Regions from separate parts of the Homo sapiens genome. Here region 1 is linked to region 2. Evidence: promoter capture Hi-C in 16 types of primary human blood cells and fetal thymus (Javierre and others, 2016). All regions are on one chromosome and are shown on one strand. Each heading gives the region's core, a stretch centred on a gene start or on the middle of the fragment in contact. The rest is flanking DNA. Distances are from core to core; before and after follow the strand shown. Region 1 overlaps HSD17B12 (hydroxysteroid 17-beta dehydrogenase 12). Region 2 holds the start of API5 (apoptosis inhibitor 5).

The links. The method cuts DNA at HindIII sites, captures the fragments that hold promoters and counts their contacts. A CHiCAGO score of 5 or more calls a contact.
Region 1: a fragment that was not itself captured here is called in contact with the fragment with the promoter of API5 in region 2 in 1 of 17 cell types (naive B cells); the score reaches 5.3 in naive B cells.

What each region holds. Positions count from the first base shown.
Region 1 is chr11:43,696,499-43,700,310 of GRCh38, reverse strand. The region is part of intron 1 of HSD17B12 (hydroxysteroid 17-beta dehydrogenase 12); the gene reads right to left. Among named protein-coding and RNA genes, the nearest start is that of HSD17B12, 18 kb to the right of the region's middle. The HindIII fragment of the contact is 1,557 bases long and covers 1,343-2,899 here.
Region 2 is chr11:43,309,434-43,313,266 of GRCh38, reverse strand. API5 (apoptosis inhibitor 5) reads right to left here and starts at 1,271. Exons shown (of 14, transcript NM_001142930.2): 1 at 1,071-1,271. The coding sequence starts at 1,139. RefSeq lists an enhancer at 743-1,518. The HindIII fragment of the contact is 11,672 bases long and covers 1-1,446 here.

The DNA of each region.
Region 1 (3,812 bases), core at 872-3,371, 390 kb before region 2:
TGTGATTATTTCTCATTGCATGCCTGTATCAAAATATCTCATGTACCCCAAAAATATATATACCTACTGTGTACCCACAAAAATTACAAATTAAAAAAATATATATAAATAAATAAATTAGGACTTTTTCTGGTGGCTGAAGCCAGCAATGCCAAGTACACGGTAGACTAGAAGTCCTAGGGAACTCAGGCTCCTCCCCATCAACAGCCTTCATCCAGTGACTAAGGCCACTGGTGTATAAATACCCAAACTTCCCAGCCCCTCAGATAAGATAACCCTGAAACTTGAGTTCTGCTCTAGCTCCAGAGTTATTGTGTGGGCTAAAGCTCCAGTGGGCCACAGTGCTTGATAATGTCCTGTAGATATAAGCCATAACTGGGTAAGATGATATCTCACTGTGGTTTTGACTTGCATTTCTCTGATGATCAGTGATGTTGAGCACCTTTTTCATATGCCTGTTTGTCATTTGTATGTCCTGAGAAATGTCTATTCAAATCTTCTGCCCATTTTTTGATCGGATTATTAGATTTCTGGCCAAATTGGCTGAATTCCCTTCTCTATCTCCTCCCTACTGGTGTTTCTTGGGATCACCTTTCAAATAAACTGAACTTGAATGTGTCTCAACATCTGATTTTGGGAGAACCCAAACTAAAATAGGAACACAAGAGAAGAGAAAAATAAATGTCTCCATTTGCAGTAACATTAACAAACAATTTGAAAAAAACAAAAAGTAATTCACAATTTTCAAATATACATATTTTGGAGCTAAAATTACTAGAAGATTTGGATATATACTCCTTAGTATTTTTTAAAAATTGATTCAAAGTATATTCTGGAAAATATTTCCTCATTTCAAAGATGATACTTTTGCTACAGATATCTAAAAGGTACTATTATCTCATTAACATCATAATTCATCAGAATCTAGCTTAAATAAAAATGAGAACATTCCTTTCTCACTTCCCCAGAGGAAAAAATGAAAAAAGAGAATAATAAAAAGCCTTAAGCTAAAGAAAAAGAACTCTAAATATCTTTTAGCATGAGATGGGAACAGTGGGGTATTGAGTGAGAAATGACAGGAACTTATAATAATCTCTTATAATAATGCTTATAATAAAATAATGAGACTTTAAACAGTTATGTCAAGCTATGAAAGTCTTCCAATTATACCATAGTTGAAATGATACTTCACTAGCAATAATTTAACTATATCTTTAATCCACTGTAGTAACTAACCATACATACCTTTTGTATATGTTAAAAATAAAGTTGAAGCTTAAGGCATCTCTTTAAAATACAATTAGTGGTTACATTAGTTTAACTTTTAATTTAGAAACAAGCTTACATTAACAAAAATTGCTTTAAAAAATCTGTTTTAGGTATGTTCTAAAATTGATATATATTAGATAATCACATCAAGAGACTCAGGTGTTGATCACAACAAAGTTGCAACAGACCCCAAAATAAATCTTGAAGCAATGTGAACCTCACACAAGCTGATCAACTCATACGGCAATTCTATTTCTAGGTTTCTAATTGAAAGGTGAAGAGGGGAAAAGGCCCAGTGCCTTGTATGTGCATAATGCTTTGTACTTTCTACCACGCTTCCAAAGACTCTTAATATCTTAGACAAAGTGGGGATTTTTGAACACATTTGATAGATGGAAAAAAACAGAATAGCTGATCAAAGATTCCACACTAATAAGTGCCAAAGGTGGGAAGATGAGATATGAACTCAGGTCCTGTGATAATCCTGTACCCGTTCTTTCCACTATACTTTCTGCCCAAAGAGAAAATAGCAAACGGATTGACCCAACTATAGCACAATGTGCTACATGGAATACACTCAACTTATTAAAAAATAACATTTTCCTTTTCCTAAACTATTACATTGCTGAGGCACCACACTTTTCTGTAGACTATAAAATATAGCATCTAATTTAGAACAACTTAAATGATGGCTAGACCAAAGGACTTAGGCTCAGCTTGGTGCGAATCTACAGTAAGACTGCCTGATATCCACATAGAACCTGTCAGAAATCAACCTCATTATTTTCTTCCCAAAGCCTGATCTCTCTTAGTGTTTTATGTCAGTGCCCAGAGCTCAGACCCCTCACAGTCCTTTTGGACTCTGCTGTCTCCCTCAGCCCCACAATCATAAGTTTATGACAAGGGCCCATAACTTTACCTCCTATCTCTTTCTTGTCTGACTCCCTCTCCCAGTCCCTGTCTCAGTTTCCTTAATCCAAGCCACCACCACCCAATGCCTGGTTTACCATCACCAGTCTCCTGCTGGTCTCCCAACCTCCTGAGTTGCTACCTCCACATCCATTCTCCAAAATGCCAGAGTAAACTGTCCTAAGTACAAACTTGATCATGACACTCTACTGCTTAAAATCTTTCAACGACTTCCCACTGTCCTTAGGATAAACAAACTCTTACTGTAGACTCAAGGGCCTGTGGGATCTGGCCCCCTGCCTACATTTCTCTAGTCTTATCTATTGCCTCTCTCCTCTCAGGATTCTCAGCCCCAGCTCTCTCAACCTTCTTTTAGAAAAACTTCCTGAAATGGTCTCAGTTTCCTCAAGGTCTTCACCCAAGGTGTTCTCACTGCTTGAAATAGTCCCCTGTCCTCCAACACCCCTCACCTGCCCATCTCTAATTTATCAATGCCGTTTAGCATAGTGGCTAAGAGAGGAAATTGAGGAGACAGACTTCAGTTCAAAGCCCAGGTGCTCCTCCACTTACTATGTGACTTTGGGTAAACTGCTTGACCTCTCTATATTTTAGCTCTCTTTTACTAAAACAGAGATATTAATAGGATCTACCTTATTACATTATGTGCAGATTAAATGAGTCAATTAAGATATTTAGAAAAGTACCTGGTACATGGTAAGCTTTTTAATAAACATTACATCTTATTACCATTATGAACATCATCATCTTCTACTTTTCTTCCACATCTTGGATTAAATGTTGCTTCTTCCAGAAAACCTTCCTTAAGCCCCTGAACCAGGTTAGTGCCCCCATAGCCGGCTCCTGTAACACTTTTTGGATCTGCTTATATAATGTCTGTGTCTTCTGCCAGACCAGCAGAGATAGAGACCATGGCTTTCTTTTTGTTTGTTTGTTTTATTTCAAGTTCTGGGATATGTGTGCAGAATGTGAAAGTTTCTTACATAAGTATACATGTGCCATGGTAGTTTGCTGTACCTATCAACACATCATCTAGGTTTTAAGCCACATATGCATTAGCTATTTGTCCTAATGCTTCCCCTCCCCCTTGCCTCCCACCCCCCGCAACAAGTCCTGGTGTGTGTTGTTCCCCTCTCTGTGTCCACGTGTTCTCATTGTTCAACTCTCACTTATGGGTGAGAACATGTGGTGTTTGGTCCTCTGTTCCTATGTTAGTTTGCTGAGGATGATGACTTCCAGTTTCATCCATGTCCCTGTAAAGGACATGATCTCATTCCTTTTTTGGTTGCATAGTATTCCATGGTGTGTATGTACCACATTTTCTTTATCCAGTCTGTCACTGATGGGCATTTGAGTTGGTTCCATGTCTTCGCTATTGTAAATAGTGCTGCATTCAACATATGTGTCCATGTGTCTTTATAGTAGAATGATTTATATTCCTTTGGGTATATACCTAGTAATGGGATTGCTCACATGGTATTTCTGGTTCTAGATCCTTGAGGAACTGCCACACTGTCTTCCACAATGGTTGAACTAATTTAGAGTCCCACTAACAGTGTAAAAGTGTTCCTATTTCTCCACAGCCTCACCAGCATCTATCGTTTCTTGACTTTTTA
Region 2 (3,833 bases), core at 22-2,521:
ACTGTGTATCGGGGGCAAGCATCGTTAAGAGAGCTCTTCCAGACAACTCCATTCAGAGCTGCGCACTCACACTCTCCTTCGCCCAGCCCTGTTTTATTTTCTTCAAACATGTTTCATTAAAAAGAATAAATTTTTAAAAAAAACCTTTTTTTTTTTTTTTGAGACGGGGTCTTGCTTTGTCTCCCAGGCTGGAGTGCAGTGAAGCGATCTCGGCTCACCGCAACCTCTGCCTCCCGGGTTCAAGCAATCCTCCCACCTCAGCCTCCTGAGTAGCTAGGATTACAAGCGCGTGTCACCACGCCCGGCTAATTTTTGTATTTTTAGTAGAGACAGGGTTTCACCATGTGGGTCAGGCTGGTCTCGAACTCCTGACCTCGTGATCCGCCCGCCTCGGCCTCCCAAAGTGCTCGGATTACAGGCGTGAGCCACCAAGCCGGGCCTCACAATGCCTATCTTTCTTACTACACTCCCTCCTAACTGTACATTCTGGGAGAGCGCGGACCTTTCCATCTGTATCTCCAGCGCTCGGCACTCAAAAAAATGCACTGAATAAATGAAACCGTGAGCTCTCATCAAAGTCTGGACCAAAGAGTCCCTCTTCTGTTTCTCACAAACTTCTGTCTCCTAAACACTCTTCTTCAATTAGTAGCAGAATTTTGCCTCCCCCCCAAAAAAAACACATCTTGACCTCATGAAGAAAACTCCCGATCTAATCTTGGAAGCACTGAGCTCCACCGAAAAGGAGAAAGGCTTAAGAGAATCCTGTAGAGAAAAGCTCCGTGAGAAGAATTAACGTGAGCCTGAACGGGCTGAGTTAGGTTACGCCACGGTGAGAAAAGGCTGGGCAAGGGAGGCAAGGAAGCCTGGAACCCTGGGGACCGCGGTCTCCCTGGTGAAACCAGAGTCTACACTCCCAGAGAGGCCCACCCCGACGAGACGGCCTGAGGAGGCTAGGAGGCCCCGGGAGGATGAAGCCGCAGCCCCCGCTCGGCCCGGGGAGTGCGGCGGGAAGCGCTTTCGAAAGGCCGCGGAGCGCCAGGCCCTGCAGGCCGCCCGGGGACTCAACTCACCTGGCCCACTTGCTCCGTGGCATCGGCCAGGATGCCATAATTGCGGTAAAGCTCCTCTACTGTCGGCATGGTGAGCGACAAGCCCAGGGCCCGGTTCCGCTATCCTTGTCCTGACCGGCGCCACCGCCGCCTCGGAACTTCTCCAAACCCACTACCCGCACTATTACACCTCCAGCTGCCGCCAGTGCAGCCGCCAGTCACCGCGCACAGCGCGGCTGCGCCCCCGACGTCTACGTAAAGACGCGCACGTCGGGAGCGGCCTTCAGTAGACACCCCCCACCCCAATGCGCCTCCGCGGTTTTTGTCGCCCTCTACAGCCTGGAGGAGCAAAAAAGCGGCAAGGATGATTGAATTAGCTCACGCCTTTTTGAAAGCTTGAGCTTGGCTGCAGGCTCTCCATGGAAGGGGTGTGGGTGGGCGGGGAAGTGAATACAAAGACAATTGCGTTTCTGCCCTTAGAAGATCTTACATATGAGAAGTCACAAATGGTTTCCTCCTGATTCAAGGAAGGTAATATTAATCGGTGGCACTAGAGGCTAGTGGGTCCGGTGGGAAGCAAAAAACATTCCTATGCTATTAAAAAACCCTCTGTGTCCACCACGCTCATCAAGTGCGGGGTCAAATTTGGCCTGCTGGAAGAATTTGCTTATCTTTGCTGCCAGTGTAAAGAATTGGGGCCACCTGATTATGTCCAGTATCCAAAAGAATAATAAATAAATGAAATCACGTACGCTTACTGATAAGAATTTCTAAGATACAAGTTTAAATGAAATTATATATATAATATGATATAATATATAATATTTTATATATTATATAATATATAACATTATATATTAATATATAATAATTTTATATATTATATAATATATAATATTATATATTAATATATAATATTATATATTATATAATATATAACATTATATATTAATATATAAATATATAATATATAATATAAATATAATAATATTATATTAATATATAAATATATAATATATAATATAAATATAATAATATTATATTAATATATATTAAGATAATAATATTAATTAATACATTAATTATATAATATAATTATAATATATCTATATATTGAGATATAATATTAATTAATATATCAATATTATCAATTATATATTATAATTATCTTATATTATATATAATATATTAATTATATAATTAATATATTAATATTATTATCTTAATATATATTAATATATTATTATATTTATATATCATATATAATATTATGATATTAATATTATAATATATATTATATATTATATTATATATACAATTATATATATAATATATATTATATATTGTATATTATTATATAATTATATATTAAGATAATAATATATATTAAGATAATAATATATTATATATATTAAGATAATAATATATATTATATATATTAAGATAATAATATATATTTATATATTAAGATAATTATATTTATATAATAATATTATATATATATATAGCCGTGTGCGGTGGCTAACGCCTGTAATCTCAGCACTTTGGAAGGCTGAGTTGGGTGGATCACTTGAGGTCAGGAGTTCAAGATCAGCCTGGTCAACATGGTGAAACCCTGTCTCTACTAAAAATACAAAAATTAGCCAGGCGTGGTGGCATGCACCTGTAGTCCCAGCTGCATGAGAGGCTGAGGCAGAAGAATTATATGCACATAGGAGGCAGAGGTTGCAGTGAGCCCAGATCATGCCACTGCAATCCAGCCTGGGCCACAGAGCAAAACTCTATCTCAAAAAAATTAAAAGAAAAAGAAAAAGAAAAAGAAAAAGAAAAGTTAAAAGGCAGGTATAAGATGATCCCATTATGTAAAACATACAAAGCATACAAAACAAAGTTATGTGTGTATGTGTAAAAGGATGTTAAAGGATGTTAACATTTCAGGATTGAAATATCAAACTATAATAGACTGTAAATTTCAAAGCCACATCCACTTGTACAGAACATACACGGGAAATGATTACAAAAGAACTCCCCGGCTCTTGTACTTCTCAGTTAGATTGAGGATAAATCTCACATCCTAAAAAGGATTAGAGCTGAGCGTGATAGCCAACAGTCCCAGCTATTTGGGAAGCTAAGCGGGGAGAACCACTTGGGCCCAGGAGTTCAAGTCCAGCCTGGGCAACACAGCACGACCCCTGTCTGAAAATAAGAAATCAAGTGTAAAATTCAATGTTAAAAAAAATTGCAGGCCAGGCGCGGTGGCTCACGCCTGTAATCCCAGCACTTTGGGAGGCTGAGGCGGGCGGATCACGAGGTCAGGAGATCAAGACCATCCTGGCTAACACGGTGAAACCCTGTCTCTACTAAAAATACAAAAAATTAGCTGGGTGTGGTGGTGGGCGCCTGTAGTCCCAGCTACTTGGGAGGCTGAGGCAGGAGAATGGCGTGAACCCGGGAGGTGGAGCTTGTAGTGAGCCGAGATTGTGCCACTGCACTCCAGTCTGGGTGACAGAGCAAGACTCTGTCTCAAAAAAAAAAAAAAAAAAAAAATTGCAATTTGGACTCTTGTGGAGAAAAAGAAAAAGAATTAGAGAATAAAATGAGAATTGGTGATTTTTTTATTTTTATGTTTTTGAGAAAGATGTCTTGTGAGTAGGTTGAGGGCAATTTCTACCCCCTTCCCTCAAGCGTGGGGCCATTTTGAGGAGCCTGAAATATGGTCCCAGGTGGTTGAGAAACACAAAGGACTGGACACGCCTGATAAGCTCAGGTTACCCGTGACTGCAG